Linked DNA regions of Homo sapiens: all the other regions are linked to region 4. Evidence: promoter capture Hi-C in human tissues and cell types (Jung and others, 2019). All regions are on one chromosome and are shown on one strand. The core of a region is centred on a gene start or on the middle of the fragment in contact, and the rest is flanking DNA. Distances in the headings are between cores, read along the strand shown. Region 1 holds the start of RNF213 (ring finger protein 213). Region 2 overlaps RNF213 (ring finger protein 213). Region 3 holds the start of NPTX1 (neuronal pentraxin 1). Region 4 holds the start of BAIAP2 (BAR/IMD domain containing adaptor protein 2).

Evidence for each region. Contacts are between HindIII fragments. The study calls those that stand out against the background at their distance.
Region 1: a contact is called between the fragment with the promoter of RNF213 here and the fragment with the promoter of BAIAP2 in region 4, in 1 of the 25 tissues and cell types used here (liver).
Region 2: a contact is called between a fragment that was not itself captured here and the fragment with the promoter of BAIAP2 in region 4, in 2 of the 25 tissues and cell types used here (dorsolateral prefrontal cortex and lymphoblastoid cells).
Region 3: a contact is called between the fragment with the promoter of NPTX1 here and the fragment with the promoter of BAIAP2 in region 4, in 3 of the 25 tissues and cell types used here (dorsolateral prefrontal cortex, lymphoblastoid cells and spleen).

What each region holds. Positions count from the first base shown.
Region 1 is chr17:80,258,965-80,262,525 of GRCh38, forward strand. It overlaps RNF213 (ring finger protein 213), which reads left to right and starts at 1,888. Exons shown (of 68, transcript NM_001256071.3): 1 at 1,888-1,938. RefSeq lists silencers at 1,267-1,616, 1,896-2,245, 2,626-2,765. The HindIII fragment of the contact is 8,363 bases long and covers 1-3,561 here.
Region 2 is chr17:80,370,451-80,373,637 of GRCh38, forward strand. RNF213 (ring finger protein 213) reads left to right here. Exons shown (of 68, transcript NM_001256071.3): 47 at 1,424-1,535; 48 at 2,071-2,284; 49 at 2,525-2,715. The region is part of intron 1 of RNF213-AS1 (RNF213 antisense RNA 1); the gene reads right to left. Among named protein-coding and RNA genes, the nearest start is that of ENDOV, 43 kb to the right of the region's middle. RefSeq lists an enhancer at 1,318-2,517. The HindIII fragment of the contact is 5,086 bases long and covers 1-3,187 here.
Region 3 is chr17:80,474,766-80,477,993 of GRCh38, forward strand. It overlaps NPTX1 (neuronal pentraxin 1), which reads right to left and starts at 1,842. Exons shown (of 5, transcript NM_002522.4): 1 at 1,238-1,842; 2 at 746-953. The coding sequence starts at 1,681. RefSeq lists an enhancer at 296-829. The HindIII fragment of the contact is 30,247 bases long and covers 1-3,228 here.
Region 4 is chr17:81,033,280-81,036,428 of GRCh38, forward strand. BAIAP2 (BAR/IMD domain containing adaptor protein 2) reads left to right here and starts at 1,872. Exons shown (of 14, transcript NM_001144888.2): 1 at 1,872-2,029. The coding sequence starts at 1,976. It overlaps BAIAP2-DT (BAIAP2 divergent transcript), which reads right to left and starts at 1,440. Exons shown (of 2, transcript NR_026857.1): 1 at 1,286-1,440; 2 at 1-119. RefSeq lists a silencer at 1,508-1,817 and an enhancer at 1,689-2,684. The HindIII fragment of the contact is 14,233 bases long and covers 1-3,149 here.

The DNA.
Region 1 (3,561 bases), core at 638-3,137, 770 kb before region 4:
CACCAACGTGAGCCATGCAAGTCATTTAAACATTTCGACTAGTCATACTGAAAAAGTCAAAAGAAACAGTTGAAATTAACTGTTTAGAGACAAAGTCTCACTCTGTCGCCAGGGCTGGAGTGCAGTGGTGCAGTCAAGATTGGTGGGAGGAAAAAGCAGGTTTTAATTGGAGACCCAGCAAAGCGAGAAGATGCCCAACTAGCGTTCTAAAGTGTCACCTTGGCTGGGCGCAGTGGCTCATGCCTGTAATTCCAGCACTTTGGGAGGCCAAGGCAGGTGGATCACCTGAGGTCAGGAGTTTGAGACCACCCTGGCCAACATGGAGAAACCCCGTCTCTACTAAAAATACAAAAATTAGCCAGGCTTGGTGGCGGGCGCTTGTAATCCCAGCTACTCGGGAGGCTGAGGCATGAGAATCACTTGAACTGGGAGGTGGAGTTTGCAGTGAGCCAAGATCACGCCACTGCACTCCAGCCTGGGGTATAGAGTGAGACTGTCTCCAAAAAACAAACAAACAATAAATAAAGTGCCACCCTAAAATTAAAAATTTATCCTCAGGTTTTGTGTGTTTGTTAGTTTTTGAGGCAAGATCTCACTTTGTCATCCAGGCTGGAGTGCAGTGGTATGATCACGACTCACTGCAGCCTGGAGCTCCCTGGGCTCAAACGATCCTCTTGCCTCAGCCTCTTCAGGTGCACCACCACGCCCAGCTAATTTTTTTAAATGATTTTTTTTGTAGAGATGGGGTCTCTCTATGTTGCCCAGGCTGCCATCGAGTTCTTCTAGGGAAACTTGCCGTGGGCACCGTGGGGAGTGGGGTAAGGGCAGGGTCTGTGTCTTGTTCCCATGGCTGTCGTGGGCAGTTGTCGGTTAGGAGGGGTGGCTGTCGAGGATGTTGGACTAATTGTTGGCGACCCCCCGCCCCAAGCAGGAGCATTCAGCTGGGGTTCCGCGCCGGGAATTGTTTCAGGATGAGGGTCCCCTCTGGAATGCGCAGAGGGGCGCAGTGTCCAGAGAGGGACGGGATGAAGGGGTGAGAGGAGAAGGAAGAAAAAGAAAGTGGGTGATTTTAAAACGGAGGTCCCTGGTCACACCATGAGCCTCACAGATGGGAAAACTGAGGCACGGGGGATGGTGCGGACCGCCGTGGCCCCTCCATCATCAGTGACAGAGCGCTCCGCGCGGGGCCGCGGAGGTCCCTTAATCTGCAAAGGCCCCCACGCGGCGCGCTGACGACGTCCACTGCACCCGCCGGGCGCCCTCTGGGCCGCTCCCAGGCTGGCCGCCGGCTCTGCGCGGCCGCAGACACTGTCCGAGGTGCTGGGCGCCGGGGCGGGGGGCGCGCCTGTCCCGCCCCACTCGGCTGCTCGGGCCTGCCCGGGGTCTGGGCTTCCGGGAGACCCGCATGCGCCCCACGCCTGGCGGGAACCGAGGCCCCTCCCGCGTCTGTACCCGGCGCGCAGCGGCCCGAGGCGCCTCCCGGGGGCTGGGGGCCCGGAGTCACTGGGAGGCGCCACCGGCGGGGAATTCCGCACACGCCTGCGCGGGGCCGGCGGCGGCGGCGGGCAGGGCGGGGCCGGCGGCGGCGGCGGCGGGCAGGGCGGGGCCGGCGGCGGCGGCGGCGGGCAGGGCGGGGCCGGCGGCGGCGGCGGCGGGCAGGGCGGGGCCGGCGGCGGCGGCGGCGGGCAGGGCGGGGCCGGCGGCGGCGGCGGCGGGCAGGGCGGGGCCGGCGGCGGCGGCGGCGGGCAGGGCGGGGCCGGCGGCGGCGGCGGCGGGCAGGGCGGGGCCGGCGGCGGCGGCGGCGGGCAGGGCGGGGCCGGCGGCGGCGGCGGCGGGCAGGGCGGGGCCGGCGGCGGCGGCGGCGGGCAGGGCGGGGCCCAGGGCCCCGTGACCCGAGGGGCGACAGCGCGCGGCAGGCGGCGAGCTCGGGGGCCGCAGGTGCGAGCGGGCCTGGAGAGTCTCCCGGGGCGGGGAGCGGGCTAGGATACAGTGGGCCCCGCGGGCCGGCGGGCCGGGTCCCGGGGAGCGGCGCCTGCGTCCGGATGCCCCTCCCGGCCGCCTCTTCCTGCCGGCTCCAAGTTTCGGTTTCGCCGCCGGGGTGCCCGGTCCAGCCCCGCCCGCGGCGCCCACTGACCCTGTTCCCCGGCTGCGGGAGGGGTCGGGGTGGGGGCAGCGGGCACGCCTGGGACCCCGGCGACATCCCCGGAGCGCAGAGCGCGGAGGAGGCTTTGCGCCCCGGCAGTGCTGCCCCCGGGAAGTGGCCGGGGCACGGGGGGTGTAGTGGAAGGGGACAGCCGGACCCGGGCCTGCAGGTCCGCCCGGGAATCCTGCGCCTGTACGAATGGCAACAACGGAAAAGTGAAGTTGCAAAAACAGACTCCTAACTTTTACGAGGGAGGCATCGCCCCGTCTGAACCGCACCGCGCAGCGTCCTTCCGACTTGGCGAAGTCGCCCGAGCGCGGGGCTCAAGGCCAGGGTGGGCACCCCTCCCGGATGGCTGCCTGCAAGCCGGCGGGCCGGGCCCTGGGGGAGTCCAGGGCGGGAGGGGAAGGAGCTGTGCAAACATGGTGGTGGCCCTTCCCTGCCCCCACCTTGTTGACTTTGGTTGTGGTTGGGGGATGGGCTTTGATTTGGGTGGCAGTGTCTGTGCTTGGGAAAAAATGTCAGAGAAAAGACAGGAAGCGGATTGAATGCAACAGTGTTGGGTGCCTGGGGCTCTCTCTTGTGTCTTCCGGCCCCTAGAGCAGATGGAACAATAAGATGCTTTAGGGGGCCGGGCGCAGTGGCTAATGCCTGTAATCCCAAAACTTTGGGAGGCCAAGGCGGGTGGGTCACCTGAGGTCGGGAGTTCGAGACCAGCCTGGCCAACATGAAACCCCGTTTCTACTAAAAACACAAAAAATTAGCCGGGTGTGGTGGCGCATGCCTGTAACTCCACCTACTTGGGAGACTGAGGCGGGAGAATCGCTAGAGCCCGGGAGGCGGAGGTTGCAGTGAGCTGAGATTGCCCACTGTACTCCAGCCTGGGTGAAACTGTCAAACAAACAAAAAATGCTTTTTGGAGGATTTTTCGAGTTTTCTGGTCTGTGGTTCCCCAGTGTAGCATTGGAGAAGGAAACACTTCGGGTGGAAAGAAAGAGGCCTGGGCGGTGGGGAGTCATTGAAGGTGTTTGAGGGAGGGAGTGTCCACTGGTGGTTGTTTCAGGTAGAGTGTGGAGGGGAGGAGGTACGGTGGGAGCCAGGGCTTGGCTGTGGCAGGGGTAGGGGAGTTTTAAACTCTCCTTCTACTCTGAAGGAGAGATAATTTTAGTCTCTGGAATAAAAGGGCAGCAGACCTGGAGAAAAGGGATGCAAATTGTCCCATACACCTATTGGGAACCTCATCAAAGAGAAGACTGCAGAAGACAGATGATTGATGTTTTTATGGCATTGGGACAGGGGCTTGGGGCTGGAGAGGGGAGGTGTGCAGGGTTGTCTTGTTGTGCAGATAATCACTCAGGTGATCTCAGAGCTGCTCTCAGAGGAACTGGCGAGGCCGCAGGCACTCCTCTTGTGTGTCC
Region 2 (3,187 bases), core at 7-2,506, 660 kb before region 4:
AAAAAACATGTTGATACTTATGATGATGTTACAAAAAGCGGTGATGAGTTAAACTGCTGGCCCCTCACGTGAAGACACAGTAGCTGGAGGTATTGTTTTCTTCACCGCCATGCACACGTGGTTTTCTTCATGCCAGTTTCATTTTAGTTTTACTAAATCTTGACTCTTGAGGATTTGACTTTTCAACGTTTTGTGGAAATGGGAAGCACACACAAAACACTCCCACTACACACCGGAGTAGACAGTTGCCTCACAGAAAATCACTCATGACAAGCCCTGGGTTATCAGCCGGCTGCTGTGTTCATGGACCGCCACCCGTGCTGGGAGGAAGGATGCACATGATACAGGTGTCCAGGGCTGGGCAGGCCTCTCCTGGAAATCAGCAAAGTGAGCCAGCCTCAGCCAAACAACTGACAATGTTGGTTGGTGATGATAACATTCAAGCTTTTAAGCTGAAATTAAAATTTTGAAAAGCTTATATTCTCCACTATGAGCTTGTGAGCTTTTGAATACTTAAAGACATTTTGGGGCAATTTGTGGTGATATTAATGAATATGGATTTTTTTTTTTAAAACGTAGAATACAAATGTGTCAACCTTTACAAGACCTGCACAGCCCAGTGAACCAATATTTTCCAAATGACCAATGCCTGATGTCATGAAATCATGTGGGTCAAAAAAGAAAAAAATCTATTTAAAGTATGGGCAGACCTTTTTGATTTTAACATAATTGACTGAAAAATGCACTGATACAGTTTCAGGCTCCACATTGCAACTAACCTCTAGACATGACCATTTATCACTGTGGGCACAGCATTAAGGAATAATAGCCACAATCAGCTGCAAAAACTATTAAAATGTTCCTCGCTATTCCGAGTATATGAGGACAGATTTTCTTCATGTTCTCCCATATGCTGCAGCGATGGGGAGCAGGGCAGGCAGGCCGCTGACTTCCAGGAGCCAGGCCCCAGGGCCAGCACAGGAATGGAAGACCAAACCACTCTTCTCACGGATTCATGTTTTGGAAAATATTTTAAATGTTATTTAACATGTAATAGCTTTATTGTTATTTTAAATGAATGTATATTTTTGAAACCTTTTGTTTTTAATGTCTCATAATTCCTAATATCATAAATATTGATAATATAACCCACATAAAAGCTCTTCGGGGTTCTCAATTTTTAAGACTATAAAGGGGTCCTGAAACCAAAGTTTGAGGACAGCTGGTCTAAAATGTGAGTTTTATATTCCTCCAGTATTATGCTAAAAGGTTTTCCATAAAATCTTAGAAACCACGTATATGTATGTATATGTTTATACACACACACACACAGGACAGACGACCGATAGATAGATGCTCTTTTTTTTAGTAAGGTATGTCTCCAGATCTGAGAGAACCAGGAATAATATTTCTCTTTCTGCAGCTTTCATGATGTAAAAGATTATATTCAGGAATATTTGACCCTGTTAAAAAAGAAAGCATTCATAACTGAAGATAAAACTGAACTGTACATGCTCTTCATCAACTGCCTGGAGGTAAGTGAACTCTCTCTTCCCTGAATTTCTTTTGGAAACTATCTGAACCACATGGTTTAAAATTTACAGAATATAATTTTAGTCAGTATAATTAACGAATGCTCTGTTCCGTGCAGAAAAGAAGAAAGGTTTCAAAGACGCGGCTTCTGCCTTCAGCAACGTATATTTTGGCATTTACTTGCATATACATACAAAACAGAACAGCCTAGGAGAATATACTGCCAAAGTTAACAGTGGTTATCATTGAGTGGGGACATTATGGATACTTTTTATCTTCATATTTTTATATCCAAAATTTTTATAATGTAAATAAATTAGATAATTTTTTTTCCTCATAGGTTCACTTTTCCCCTCCTTCTTGTCCTTAAAATAAAAAGGAATGTTAGGTTTCCATAAGTCAAGAAATTTACACTGAAACCTACAGTAACATTCTTCTATCCTTCCTTCTCCACAGTCACATTGGCGACTGTAGAAGCTTGGGGCATCCATGTTTAAAAAAATAATATCCTTTTCTTTCTTGTTCCTTGTTCCTCAGGATTCAATACTTGAGAAGACCAGTGCTTACTCCAGAAATGATGAACTGAACCACCTAGAAGAGGAAGGTCGTTTCCTTAAGGCATATTCTCCAGCAAGCCGGGGCCGAGAGCCTGCCAACGAGGCCTCGGTTGAATACCTGCAAGAGGTGGCCCGGATCCGCCTCTGCCTCGACAGAGCTGCAGATTTCCTCTCGGAGCCTGAGGGAGGCCCAGGCAAGTCTTCTCTGCCTTGCTTTCCTTTGGGTTTAAAGACTCCGTTATTTAGAAATTCAGGAAGTATGGGAAACTAGTTCTTCGAATAGACTACTACTGGGCTTTTCTACATCCCCTCTCCCCTGGATGTGTTTCTGTGAATGCCTGTGGGTAGGTCCGATGCCCTCTGGTTGGCCTTGTGTCCTACAATAAATGCCCTAAGTCACCAGCCACTCACCCGCTTTCTCGTTGGCCTCTCAGAGATGGCCAAGGAGAAGCAGTGCTACCTGCAGCAAGTCAAGCAGTTCTGTATCCGGGTGGAGAACGACTGGCACCGGGTGTACCTGGTGCGGAAGCTCAGCAGCCAGCGGGGGATGGAGTTCGTGCAGGGCCTCTCCAAGCCCGGCCGCCCGCACCAGTGGGTGTTTCCCAAGGACGTTGTCAAGCAGCAGGTGAGAAGCGGGGCCGGGCAGCACACAAACATGCACCCCCACAGCCCCATACACCCCAAACCCACACACCCCCCTACCCTCACACCCTACCCCCCCCACACCCCACCCCCTCACACCTTCCCCACCACATACCCTCATACCCCCACACCTCACCCTCACACCCCCACACCTCACCCTCACACCCAGGGATGGTGCCACTGCTTCCGCGTTCCGCCTGCCCTTAGCATCCCCAGAGCCAGGAAGGAAACCTGCCGCTTGTCTGTCTGGTCCTTTGTCTCTGTGCTTCAGCTGATTTGCCCCAGCTTGTGATCATGTTTACACTGCCTGCTGTAGGGCCAAGGTGAGGGCACTCACCTCAGAGCTTCTTTAATTAGGCATCACTTCTAATTGAATTTCACTCAAGGAAAGTAGAACATTCTTGTGGCCTTTGCTTTCAGCGAATTAAACGTAGTTCAGCTTGCAAGGTGCGACC
Region 3 (3,228 bases), core at 592-3,091, 560 kb before region 4:
GAGCAGGGTCACGTGGCCTTGCTCCGCACCGGGCACCCCCCCCCCTCCCCTTTTACAACCTTGTTTGATTTCTGCGACTTCAAGACAGAGCCTCCAGCGCTCATCCAGGCGCCCTGGGTGATAGACTGGCTGGCCTGAGTTGGTGACTGAGAAACCTCAGGGATTTGAAAGATGCCAGGACTTGGGTCACTCAGAAAAGAAAACCTCAGGGTAGGGGTTCAGGACAGAAGTGGGGAGGAGCTGGAGATCCTGAGAGGACACCGGGGGCATGGCAGCCGGGAAGAAACCTGCTTAACAGCCTCAGCGGCCCGGGGAACGAGAGCGCCCAGCCCCAGCCTGCACCCAGCTGTACGCTGAGGCTGGGGACCAGGGAGAGACAGGCTTTCTTAAGCAGGGAGGGTTTGAGCCAGCGACAGCCACTGTGCAAAGTTACTGAGGATTAAACAAATCAGACTTGAAAAATCCAGCGAGTGTGTGAGTGTGTCTGGATGGGGGAGGGGGCACTATGCAATCCCCTTTCCCAGAGACAGCCCCAGCCCAAGGCACCCAGCCCTGATAGAAACACCGACTAGAAGCCCAGAACCTGGGAAGGGGTGCGGGGAATGAGAAAGCGGTGCAGGGGTTGGGGGTAGCGGAGCGGCTTGAGGCTTGCACAGTGCAGAGCTGGGCTGTTAGGGATCGGGACCGAGGCAGGGTCGGGCAAGCAGGTGCAGGCAGGCAGCACGGCTCCCCCTGGCCCCAGTACCTTTCTCGAGCTCGCTGATCCGCTGGTGCAGGGAGGTCAGGGCGGTCTCGATCTTGACCCTCTCCTCGGTGTCGTTCCTGGGGCCCCCCTTGCCCTCCTCCAGGGTGTTCACCCGGGACAGCACCTGCCTCTCCAGCTCATCGATCTTGCTCTGCAGCAGATCCTTGAGGCTGTTGGTCTGGCTGGAGGAATTGAGGCGGCTGTACTGCTGCGGGGTGCAAGGGCGGGGGAAACCACACCGTTAGGCGAGGCGCGGGGACCGTGCTGGAAGGCCCGCGGCGCGGTCCCCTCTGGGCGACTGCGGGGGCGGCCTGGCAGGGAGCTGGGGCGAGTGGCCGCCGCGGGGCCTCGCAGGCGCGGGGAGGCACCGGCCGGGCACCCGCGCGGCTGAGGCGAGGGCGGGGGATGCCTGGCCGGGTAGGGAACGGGGTGGGGGAGGGCAGAGGGGCGAGCGAGCCGGAGGGGGAACCGGAGCCGAGGGCGCGCGCGGACCTCGAGGTTCTCCAGGCGGGTTTTGAGCGATTGCAAAGTTTGCCCGAGTTGGCTGAGCGTCTCGGCGGCCGGTGTCCGGGACAGGTCGCCCATGGTGTTCTTGCCCGAGCCGGGCTGCTTGCGGCCGCCGCCCGCCCGGGCCTCGCCGGCTCCGGGGTCCAGCGTGCTCTGGCTCTCGCAGCGGCCCAGCTTGGCGGTCAGCTCGCGGATGGTCTCCTTCTGGCTCAGGATGGTCTCCTTCTGCTGCAGCACCGTCTCGCGGAGCTGCAGCACGCTGCTCCGGAGCTCCTCGGCGCCGCCGGCGGCCACGGACGCGGCGCACATGTCGGCGTCCACGGGCACCGAGGTGCAGATGAAGCGCGTCGGCCCGAAATCCTGGGCCCCGGCGCCCAGGAGGCAGAGGGCGAGCAGCGCACAGGTGCGCGCGGCGCGGCCGGCCGGCATGGCTGCGGGCACCGGGCGCTCCGGGCCCGGCTCGGCTCGGCTGGGGCTCGGCTCCGGCTGGGACCCGGCTCGGGCTGTGGCTCCGCGAGCGGCCCGCGCTCTGGGCGCCGCGCTCTTCGGCCGCGCGGTCCACACCGCCGCGCTATCAGGCCCCCACTGCCGCCTGCGCTGCGGAGCCCGCGCCTTTTATGCCGCCGCGGGAGGGGCCTCGAGCCGCCGACGTCAGCGGGGGAGGAATCCCGCTTTAATTGTCCGCGGCCCGGGCCCGCGGCGCGGCGGGGGTCTCACGAGCGCGCCACCGGGGCTGCCTCCGCTCGCGTCCCCCCCGCCCTTCTGGGAGCTGCCGCGGCCCCCTCCTCCCCCGCCCCCGCCTGGGCCGGCGCTGCTGCCCCGAAGGCTCCGAGAGCTCAGGGGGAAGGAAGTCGGGCTCCGGCCCCGGACTCGAGGATGGACCACCTGCGTGGTGTCCCCGAACCTCCGACGGGGCTCCAGGCGGGCGGGAAACCACCGCGTCCGGGAGATAGAATTCGGTTCGGCCCTCCTGGCTGCACTGAACACCCTTGGGCCGGGGTCGTTTGGAGCCGGGCTGGGTGCCCAAGGACCCAGGTCGTCAACACCCGAGTGCCCGGTGGTCAACGGCTCGGAGTGGGGCCTCGCGGCGCCACTAAGTCCAGAGCGGGGGTCACCGGGCCGCCCCGCGTTTCTTAGATGTCCGTGTGCTATTGAGAAGCCGCCGGGCAGCCTGGGTACAGGGACTTCCCACGGGTCGGGGCCCCCGGCGCCTCCCCTCCCCCAGCTCCCGGGCTCTGTGGACCCGGCCCCGTCCCCGGGGGACTGTCAGTCCCCACCCCGTGCGGGCGGGGCGCTGGGGACTTCTCGGAGGCAGACCTAGCTGATCGAGCCTTTCCTGTCCGCGGCGCCGGCCCGATCGCGGGCAGGCGGCGTCGCCGGGGCTGGACGTTCGCAGCGGCGCTTCGGAAGGGGGCCCCGCGGGAGCAGCCGCCCGCGTCTCCAGCAGCTTCCCCTTGCCAGGCGCCGCGCGCGCCCGGTATCCCCGGGTGTCCACCTGTGCGTGGGGGGCTGTTTCCCGTCTGTCCAGCCGCGCCCACTTCTCAGGCCCAAAGGCCAGCAGGAAGGGTCCCGGAGGTGGCTGGGGGCGTCCACCTGAGAAGCTCCGCTCTCGCTCAGACACCCCACCCGGCACCCGCGCACTCGCGCCTTCATCTGGACCGCGGGGCTCGGCTCCCGAGATCGCGGTCCGGGTTCCGGCGCCGGGCTGGGGGCTCAGGACCAGGGCTGGCGCAGCCGCCCCGCCCCGCCCCGCCCCGGGGCTATCAGAGCGGTCAAAGCCTCGGAAATCCCTCCGTCCACGCTCCCGTGGTACAGAGAAGGAAACTGAGGCTCCGAGACTGCGGGGCCGGGCTACAGCCGTGGCCCCCCGACCCCTCCCCGCCGCCCCCGGCTTCTCTGGTCTCTGCGTTCTGCAGCCTTTCCCTGCGCGCAGCCGGGGGCTGGGGGTCCCCAGCCAGCAGGGACCCACGGGCAGT
Region 4 (3,149 bases), core at 622-3,121:
AGAGCTGCTCTACCCCCACCTGCTCCGTGTTGGCCCCAGACCCAACTCAGGCCAGTGGACGTCTGTCCTAGGGCTGCGTGTGAGATCGGTGGGTGCAGGGAACACAGCAGGAAGCTGGCCTAGAAGAAGGGGGTCAGGGTCAGTGGAGATGCTCCTACCTTCAGGTAAATGCCCTCATTTGTTAGGGCCAGTTTGAGCGAGCTTTCTGTCATTTACCACCAAAAGAATCCTAGAAAATAAATACACAGGGATCTACCCCCAAACACTGGAGACAATAAAGAAAAAGGAAGCAGCCAGGGCCAGTAGCTGGAAGGAAATTCAGCCGGAGGAGAGGAGGCGCGGGGCTGTGGTGGGAGGGAGGCAATGCTTCCTGAATCTTACTTCCCTGGTCTTTCCATCGGCCTGAGCCCGTGCCAGTCTGGGGATCTGCCGGCCAGCCAGCACAACTGCGTCTCCCCCAGGGGCCTGACTCGTTGAAGGAATGAATGAATGAATGATTTTGCAGGGATGGGAGGCTGGGAGACTGAGAGGTTTCATTAAACGGAAACGCTCAGATCTGGTGTTTCACAACGTAAAACAAATAATTCCTCTATGTTAGCCTAATTTATGTAAATATTTCTCCACGGGAATTGTACCGGGAGACCTGTGTGCCAACTCGGCCAGCTTCCCCGGCAGAATCTCCCCTTGGGAGGACCCTTAAGCAGGACCCTTCCTAAAAATTGGAGGCAGCTCTGACTCCTCCATTCCTCCTACAAGGTTCCCCCACCCCCTAGGGCTTTCCACCGCATGAGAGTCCTCCGGGCCCCTCGTTTCCTACTGCCCTCGACCCTTCCTTCCCGAGACCTCTCTCTCTCAGTAAACTGCCTCCAACGAGAATCTTCTGACGGCAGGAGGGTCCTCCCCGTCCCTAAGGGTCGCCCTGTCCCCAGGCCTTCCAGCAGGACACTCCCCTGTCCCCTCTCCAGATCCTCCTTCCCAGGGCCCTCCTCCAAGATCCTCTTCCCCAACCCTCCTCTCCCAGGGTCCTCCCCTCTCCAGAATCCCGGCCCCAAGCCCCCAAGCGCTGTCTGCCTGTCTGGGGTCCTCCCCAGAGTTCACCTTCTGCAGGATCCTCCCTCCAAGTCCTCTCCTCACGATGCTCCCCCGAAATCCTCCTTCTCCAAGTCGTCCCCCACTCCAGGGCCGAGCTCTCTCCAGGGTCCTCCTGCAGCACCCCCTCCCCCAGGGTTCTCCTCTCTGCCCCGAGGGGCCGGCCGGGGGGTCGCCGCCCGCCCGGCGGGCTTACCTGCGAAGCGGCGGGGTCGGGGCCTCTCCCACCTGTAAGCCCGGCCCGCGGCGTCCTGCGTCCGAGCCGCTCCCCGCCCCGCAGCGCCAGGCCGCGACCCGGCGGGCCGCCCGCCCCGAAGTGCCACTTCGCGAAGTGCCGCCTCCACGCGCGCTGCCGCCGGCGCCCCCCGCTCTCCTCCCCGCACCTTCTGCTCCTTCTTCCTGCGCCACCCCGCCCCCGCCTCCCCGCCCCCAGCCCGGCTGTTGCCCGGGCCCCCTCAGGCTGCTCCCAGGGCCCCAGCCCGCGCCGCGCCTCCCCTCTCCTCCCCCAGGATCGACGCCGCCGCAGACCAATCGCTGCCTGGAGTCGGCCACTAGGCCCCACCTCCGATCCCGCCCCCCTCCCCCTTCTCCGGAACCCACCAATGGAAAGGGCGGTGCGGGGGCGGGGCCTGGCGGTTGCCTAGCAGCGGCAGCGCCGGGCGGGGGCGGGTGGTCGGGGGCGGTGATGCGGGCGCAACGGGGGCGGGACGCAGGGGCGGGGACTGCCGCGGGGCGGGGCCTGAGGCGGCTATAAAGGTGGCCGCCGCCGGACGCCGGGCTCTGTGGTTCGGGTCCGCTTTCGTCTCCGTCCTGCTGCCGTTACCGCCGCTGCTGCCGCCGCTTGCGTCCCCCGCTCCGGTCTGTGGTGCAGCCGGGACCCAGGACCATGTCTCTGTCTCGCTCAGAGGAGATGCACCGGCTCACGGAAAATGTCTATAAGGTGAGCGCCCCCCGGCGCCGAGCTGAGCCCGCTCCGTGTGCGCCTGGGTCGCGCGCCGCCCGCGCGCCCGAGCCCGACCAGGGCGGCCCCGGGGCCGCGCGCCGGGCCAGGAGGCTGGGACTTTGGGGGTCTTCCCGGCGCGGCCACCCGGGACCCGGGCTGCTGGGGTGGTGAGCCCGGCGCCGGCCGCTCACAGGTGGCCACCCCCGCCCGGGCCCCCCCATCCCATGCGCGCCGCGGCCCGGTCAGTCCCCAGCCCCAGGCCCGGGGAGCACTCCCCGCTCCGACGGCCCTGCTCGGCCCCCGCGCGCTCGCCTTGGCGTCGGCGGGAACGGAGCCGCGCGCCGGGCCCCGGAAGCCCTCGGACCGGTCGGGGTCGTAGCACACCCGGGCAGGGCCGGGGCGGCGGGGGCGGCGGGCCCAGGGGTTGCGGCGGCCAGGACGGCATGGGGGCTGTCTGAAGGCCGCGGTCGGCGCGGTGGCACCGTGGGGCTCCTCCAGGCGCGGTTGCGCGAGCCTCGGGCACTTCATTCTCAACAGGCTTTCCCTTCCCACAACTCCTGCCCGGCGCCCATGCTGGGGCCTAAGGTGGGAGGTCGGAGCGCGGGCAGGCTGGATGGGTGGACGGATAATCTATCATCTTATGTAACCGCGGAGAGAGAAGACTAATTGTGTAGGAGGCTGACGTGCCTGCCTTTGCTTCAGATGTGTTAAGAGTGGCATCCACGTTCTCGTCTGCGAAATGACAGGTTCACATCCAAGGGCCGCAGAGCACCGCTGGAAGCCTCCCCTGCCGCCCCCTCCCCAGTCGTTTTTGTGGCTGGGATACCGACAAACAGGCCCTTGGTTTTCTCTTTCTTCAGCATCCGTTCTCGGTCCAGACCCCCACGCCTGAGCCCGGCAGCTGCCGGGGAGCATTTTCTCAGAGGAGAAACCCCTGCTCTGGGTGTCCCTGGGTCCTGGGCGATCTCTTACAGATGTGCTTTGTTTCAAAACTGTCTGCAGGTTCAGTGACAGGCTGGGCGATGAGTGGAGTGGGTATTTACCCGGCAGTCGCTGGTTCATGTTTCCTAACCGGCTTGCACCCTGCCCGGCAGAGTAACTGTTTCTGATTGTGGTA